2 separate regions of the Homo sapiens genome follow, and region 2 is linked to region 1. Evidence: promoter capture Hi-C in human tissues and cell types (Jung and others, 2019). All regions are on one chromosome and are shown on one strand. Each heading gives the region's core, a stretch centred on a gene start or on the middle of the fragment in contact. The rest is flanking DNA. Distances are from core to core; before and after follow the strand shown.

Evidence for each region. The method cuts DNA at HindIII sites, captures the fragments that hold promoters and counts their contacts. A contact is called where the count stands out against the background at its distance.
Region 2: a contact is called between the fragment with the promoter of CD3D here and the fragment with the promoter of IL10RA in region 1, in 1 of the 25 tissues and cell types used here (mesendoderm cells).

The regions. Positions count from the first base shown.
Region 1 is chr11:117,983,906-117,987,909 of GRCh38, forward strand. IL10RA (interleukin 10 receptor subunit alpha) reads left to right here and starts at 2,489. Exons shown (of 7, transcript NM_001558.4): 1 at 2,489-2,629. The coding sequence starts at 2,563. RefSeq lists enhancers at 1,917-1,976, 3,367-3,666 and silencers at 2,167-2,266, 2,287-2,566. The HindIII fragment of the contact is 15,047 bases long and covers 1-4,004 here.
Region 2 is chr11:118,340,845-118,343,954 of GRCh38, forward strand. It overlaps CD3D (CD3 delta subunit of T-cell receptor complex), which reads right to left and starts at 1,861. Exons shown (of 5, transcript NM_000732.6): 1 at 1,709-1,861. The coding sequence starts at 1,763. The HindIII fragment of the contact is 13,514 bases long and covers 1-3,110 here.

The DNA of each region.
Region 1 (4,004 bases), core at 1,239-3,738:
CTCAGGAACAAATGAAGGTACAAACTACAATACAGGCAGGGCGGGGTATGGCCGGGTGGGTGGGGCAGCAGGCCTGGAGTGGGGCCTTGCTGGCCAGAAATGTCCTGAGCCCCTCTTCTTTGGTTTGTCTGAGAACAAGGGCAGGGCTTGAGGGATGCACACACAGTCCCAAACACACATATGCACTTGGCAAACAGACAACGTTCTCCACACCACAATGAAATCCAAATCCACAGACTGGCCACTGCAAATCATATATGACTGCAAGTGCACACACACACACACACACACACACACACACACACACACACTTTGAAGCAGGTGTCAGCCTCCAAGAAAAAGTGATGGACAGTCTGTCTCTCATATCCTCACATATTTGGTTCACCTGGAGATGGCCTCAGATGAGCCAAGTGACACAGAGGTGCGAGAGACTGAGGATGTGCTGAGGTGTTACCCAGCACTCCAGTAGTGCTATTACCCAACACAAAAATTGGTCTGAATATCAGATTTCAAGCAAGCAAGGGAAACCCAGAAGAGACTGGGAGAAGTCCTTATGGAGGCTAAAGCAACTCCATGTTGGATGCTAATCCACAGTTTTGGCCGTGTTGGCTTTGGAGCCTCCCAGAAGACCTCTGAGATTCCCAATTTATCAATTGCTCCTTGTGTAAGTGCAAACACTTACTGTAAATCCGGCCCTTAGGTCAAACAACCTTGATGTTATCATACTTCAACTGTCCTACACATCTTTTCTGAATCACCCTTCCCCTGTGGTCTATAAGCCCTGGTCCTGGGGGTGAATCATGGAGACACAAACGTAGCTTCTGTTTATAAGTCCTTATTAAATGTTTTTTTCGAAGAAACTGGATGTGTCAGCCTGTAACCTGCAAAAGGATCTGGCTGCTCTCTGCTTGTAGAAAGAATGGATAATAAAGGAAAATCTGCTAGCTGCCATGCTAGCAGGGGAAGAGCAGCAAACAATTCCACTCTTCAATTCATGGGGGGAACGCAGGGGTTTTTTAAGAAAGGATCTGAAATGCAGAAAAGGCAAGGGGGAGGTTAGGAGGTACCAGGTGGTGTGACTTGCTCCAGTGGTCCTCTTTAATTATCGTCTTATTTGGTGGAGGGGCTGGTGCAATCGTGGATCCTGCCAGGTTATAAATTAGTTACTCTTCAGCAGGGTATATGTTCAACTCCTGAAGTAAGCTTTTGTTGGAGAGAGAATTCCGGAGGTGCCTGGTCCCTATCAGGACGCAGCTCCTGAGGCATCTAAGGAAATATATGACCAGGTAAGAGCATAGCGTGTGCTTAACAAGCACGTAGGTAAATAAACGTGCGTAAGGCATGGGAGTACAGTATGGGACAGGAAAGGGAGTGGAGGTCACAGCACGTCCTGAGGCTGTGTTTTAAGATGAGAGGTAACATACATGCAGTTTGTCTCAAAATTATATCTTGAGGCCCAGAGGAGGAAGAGAAAAAAGGAAAGAAGAGAAACTAAGTTTAAAACACGGTTTAAGGCTGGGCGCGGTGGCTCACCCCTGTAATCCCAGCACTTTGGGAGGCTGAGGCGGGTGGATCACCTGAGGTCAGGAGTTCGAGACCAGCCTGGCCAACATGGTGAAACCCCGTCTCTACTAAAAATACAAAAATTAGCCCAGGCGTGGTGGCACATGCCTGTAATGCCAGCTACTCGGAAGGCTGAGGCAGGAGAATCGCTTGAACCTGGGAGACGAAGGTTGCAGTGATCCGAGATCACGCCACTGCATTCCAGCTTGGGCGACAGAGCGAGACTGTAAAAAAAAAAAATAGATAAAAAAATTTTAAAAATCGCGGTTTGAGGCTCAGCTGCTGAGCTGCTGGTTAAAAGCCTCTTTCTTGGGTCTCTCAGCTTCCTGGGACTTTGGGGGCAGGTCTGCATAAACTGCTTAGTTGTGGACCCCCCTCCAACAATTAGGTAGGGGACTACTCAGTATTCATCCATCGGTGTCCTCAGACCCCCAGACGGGGAGGCCCTGGGGCAACGCCAAGACTCACACCGGCGTCCTGGCGCCTTTGCCCTCAAGGGCCTGCAACTACCTCCTCCCCATTCGGAGCGGCCGCGGCCACATCCTTAACGCCAAGCCGGCACGCCAGGCAAAAGCGGCTCGGACGCCCTCACCCCACCTTCCGCACTCAGGGCCGAGGCTGTGCCTGGCCACCTGCTTCCCAGCACATGCACACACGCGCGCGCGCACACACCCACACACACGTACCCACGGCCGGCCGGGCTACCCGGACCACTTTGATCCGAAGGCACTGGAGGCCCAGAGGGAAGGAAAGGGAGGGGTGGCCGGAGCCCGCTAGCGCCCCAGGACAGCCTCGGGTTGCCCCAGGCGGTAGCCCTGTGGGACAGTGGTTCCCCGTCCGCGGCCTCGGGGGCGGGGCGTCTGTAGGCCTCGCCCCGCTGACGTCAGCCCTGCGGGGCGCTGGCGGAGCGGGCGGCGGAGCTGTCAGTCCCAGCCCAAGGGTAGCTGGAGGCGCGCAGGCCGGCTCCGCTCCGGCCCCGGACGATGCGGCGCGCCCAGGATGCTGCCGTGCCTCGTAGTGCTGCTGGCGGCGCTCCTCAGCCTCCGTCTTGGCTCAGACGCTCATGGTAAGGCTCCGGGACGCGGCCCTTCCCTGCCCTGCCCTCTCCGCGCCCGCTCCATTAAAGTTCTCCATCCAGTGGAGAGCCCTGGCTGGCTGGCCCTCTGGCAGAGCGGTGCCCGGGTGCTCCCTTACTCTGGCAAACCTGGATCTCAGGCTCACCTGTTGTGGAAGTGGAAGAGGCTGAAATTGACAGGAACTGACGGATTGGGAAGGATAGAGAAGTATGCGCAAGGCCAAACCCCCAACCCGCAAACCTCATCATCCACCCACTTCTAGATGAGCCGTAAGTTTAGCTCTAGGTTTTTTGCTGTTTAGGTTCAAATGATGGGACTTCTTGTCCCCTTGGGGAATAATTTTGATCTCCTGACTCTCCCTTCTCTTAGTCGACTCTTCAACTAACCTCTGTCTGTCCTTCTCCCATCTCACCTTCATCCCTCACTGATCACCCCGATCTGATCCCCCTTGCTCCACCTGTAGCCCCCAACTCACTCCCACTGCCCCCTGCCTCTCTCCTCCTAACCCAGCCAGTTCAGGCTTCTAACCCAGTTCAGGCTCCTAACCCAGACAGTTCTCCGGCAAGGTTTCTGCAACTAAGAAAAGTAAACCCCAGAGACAGAATGAAAGAGCCGGGAGTTGGAAGGACCAAGAGCAGAGACAGAGAGCAAGGACCGAAACTGCTTCTTCATGACACCAAAATACAAAGTAAAACATGCAGTCAGCCATTCACGTGATCGAGAGCTGAGTCGGAGATGTGCAGCCCAAATACCACAACGACTCGCTGCATTTTTCACTTTCCGTCTAATGTTTCGAAATCAAGGCACTGACGTGAAGATCAAAGACGGTATAAGAAAGAAAGCAAGAGACAGATGACAGAGTCCTCCCCCCCAAAAAATAAATAAAAAACAGGTGCATGATTAGAGAGATGTAGAGAAGTTAGAACACTAGGGAGCGGGAGCAGAGTCGCTGTCAAATGGAGAGAACTTAGAGGATCAAGGAGGAGAGAAAGGGAACCAACCAGCCGTTGGCCTTGCACATACTTCAGTCTGCTTGATCAACAAGACTCTTAAAGTAGAAATGTTTGTTGCATTCTTACAAAGAAGACAATGCCTTCAGCAGTGTTTCCCATGGTGAATGGTGTGTACTGGGGGTAAAGGGAGAGTAGAGCTAGGAATTGGTATTGAGTATCTCTCCTCGGAGCTACAGGTGCCAGCTCTTGTGGGGATGTCCTCAGCCATGTGTAGAGCCAGAGCTGATTTATTCCATCTGTCCTTGCCCAGCCAGAGGTTGGACATCTGGCTATAGGCAAAGCCCTCCCAGAAACTAGGGAATGAGGCAAGCACTTAGCTTGGGGAGCCCAGGAGACCTATGAAGAGAAGGAG
Region 2 (3,110 bases), core at 611-3,110, 360 kb after region 1:
CTCAGAGCAGGATTGACCCAAGCACCTTCCTGGAAATGAATCCAGACCACTGATGAGGAGTAGGGGGAGCACGGACCACTGAAGCACCTGGAAGATGTGGAAAGACAGAAGAACATTCCTCGATTGGAAATGTCTGCATTTTTTCTTCAAGGAAACATCTAATTCCACTTCCCAGCCATCTACAACACTCCCACTTCAGCTTCTTATCCTCATCCTTCCTCATTGCCCCTGCTCCATTGACAACCAAGAAAGCGGGGCTCTCAACACTGAAGCCTTTCCCAGGGCCAGGGATGGCTGTGGGTGGAGACCAGCTGGTTTACCAGCCCCTGAATTATCAGCCAAGTGGTCCAGAACGGGACCAGGGCAAATCCCATGTACAGTTTTCCACCCTTGGTTAGAAGGAGGAGAACAGGAAAAAAATTTTATTGAATCCATCCCTAGAGCTCCTCACAAGTCAAGTCTTGTGGGAGACTTTTAGGGCTGGAGGTGAGTGCAGCAACATTCCAGATGCAGTGAGTTCCTCTGACAGCCTGAGCACATCTCCACAGGCCACAGAGGCACTACAGTCTATGCCTCCAAACACAGGGAAAAGTGGAGGCTACATTCATTCATCCTGGGCTTCACACTAAGTCCCAAATTTGGATACAAGAGCATCTTCTAGAAAACCCTGAAACAGCTGTTGCTCACACTTCTGAAGCAGGTTGGAAGTATATGCATGTATCCTCAGGGAGACACATGCACATCAAATGCTTCACGTCCTACAGTCGCGTCCTCTTCAGGGATCTGTCTCCAGTGGAAATCCTGAGTGCCCTAGTGCAGCCAACTATTAGGTGACCATTGGACCCAGTTTGCTTAGTGTTGAAGGGGTTCCTCGGACATGGGACTTTCCATTTTAAAACTGAAATTGGCAAACTGAGATGAGTTAAAATCCTACCATGTAACAACCCCTCAAATCTTCCCTCCGTCCTGCTCAACCTAAAGTTAACTTCTCTTAAAGCATTCACATAAGTGCTAGGACATGCCTCCAGGGATGACATAATCATGGCCAAACAAACAAGAGTCCTGATTCCAGAGGCCATCAGGCCTAAAAGGAGTAGTGCAGGAAGCTGTGCTCCCATGGCCAGTCCCAGATTCAGGTACATACGTACTGAGCTATTTTCTGCAGATCTCTGGCCTAAGGCCTTCTGAGAGACATTCTAGGCCCACATGCACCCATGGCTGGAGTCAGTCAAAGCCAAGAGCCTGTTTCCCAGACTCTATGCTACATCCTGCCCCTGCCCTCCTGACACCCCTGGGGTGCCTGGTGAACTGAAGCTAGCACCGAGAAGCACTTTTTTTTTTTTTTGAGATAAGGTCTCACAGGTTGCCTAGGTTGGAGGGCAGTGGCATGATCACAGCTCACTGAAGCCTTGAAATCCCGGGCTCAAGTGACCCTCCTGCCTCAGCCTCTCAAATAGCTGGGACTACAGTTGTGCACCACCATGCCTGGCTAATTCTTTTGTTTTTTGTAAAGATAGAGTCTCATCATGTTGCTCAGACTGGTCTCAAACTCCTGGCCTCAAAGGATCCTCCCACTTCGGCCTCCCAAAGCTCTGGGATTACTGGTGTGAGCCACCGTGCCTGGCAAGAAACACTTTCAAGTGGGCCTCACTCCCATCAGTAATGTCCCTCTCAGGTCCCTTCCCCCACCCACCTGGAGTAGCCTTACCTTGCGAGAGAAGGGTAGCCAGTACCAGGCCAGAGAGAAACGTGCTATGTTCCATCTCCCAGCGGAACTCATCCAGTAGATAAAGCCAGGTCACCGAACTATCAGCCTGGGTGAGAGCTGCCCTCCCCTAGCTGACTCACAGGTACCGGAAAGAGGAGAGTGGGGGAGGAACTAGAAGATGTCTGCTTCTCTGCTTTCTGCCGTTGATGGTGGGAAATTTTCAGAGTGGGGGTGGGCTAGGGGTAGGGTAGGAAGGAAGCGGTGTAAATTGCTCTATCTCTGAGCAGGGAGCTGGCAGAGAATATGGAAAAGGTGGCCTGAACTTTAGCGTCCCTATTGACAATGCAACCACATTTACACACAACCTAAACACTGCCACATCTCGAAGCCCCTTGAGAGAAGCCGTCGGCCCCATAGCGCAAGCCGTAGCAGCTAGATTTCTCATGGAGGCTGATCTTTCTCAGGACCCTTCACTAGGCAGCCAGGGACACCAGATCTAGCAGCTTCTTGTCAGTGGGAGGTTGGGCTTTAGAGACCCCAGCCAGAGATTTGAATCCTGGGTCCAATACTGCCTACCTGTGGGGCCTGGGCCAGCCATAAAATTTTTCAGAGTCTTATTCCATTAGTACCATTATTAGGATTCAAACAAGATATTTGCATGGTGCCTCACGCATCATATGTGCTCATTAAGGGGTAGTTATTAATAATAATATAATTGACTGACAGGCAATATTGAGCCTCCCGGTGAGACAAATGGACCTTTTTCCCCTGTGGCCTACGAGGATCTGAAACTCTTCACGCTGCTGCAGTTAGACTGTCACTTACCTGGGGACAGAGTCATGCCTGTCTTGCTCACTGCTGTATCTTGTGCCTGGCACATAACGGGAGCTCTGCACATTTTTGTTGGCTCACTGACTGACTGGCTGAGGGAGATAGGGGCCTGAGATCCTGGACATTCAGTCCGGGCTCTGGCCCCTGAAAATGTGCTGGCCTGTCCTCGGAATTGTTCCACCTATTGCCTTCCAGGCGCCTCTTTCATGATCTCAAAAGAATAGTGAAACCAGGTGCCGTGTCTCACGCCTGTAATCCCAACACTTTGGGAGGCTGAGGCAGGTGGATCACAAGGTCAGGAGTTCGAGACCAGCCTGACCAACAAGGTGAAACCCCGTCTCTACTAAAAATACAAAAATTAGCCGGGCTTGCTGGCACGCACCTGTAATCTCAGCTACTCAGGAGGCTGAGGCAGGAGAATCGCTTGAACCCCGGAGGTGGAGGTTGCAGTGAGCTGAGATAGCGCCACTGCACTCCAGCCTGGGCAACAAAGTGAGACTCTGTCTCAAAAAAGAAAAAGAAAAAAAAAGTGAAAAAAATTCCTGAATGAAGGCCTGGACTGAGGTGGCTT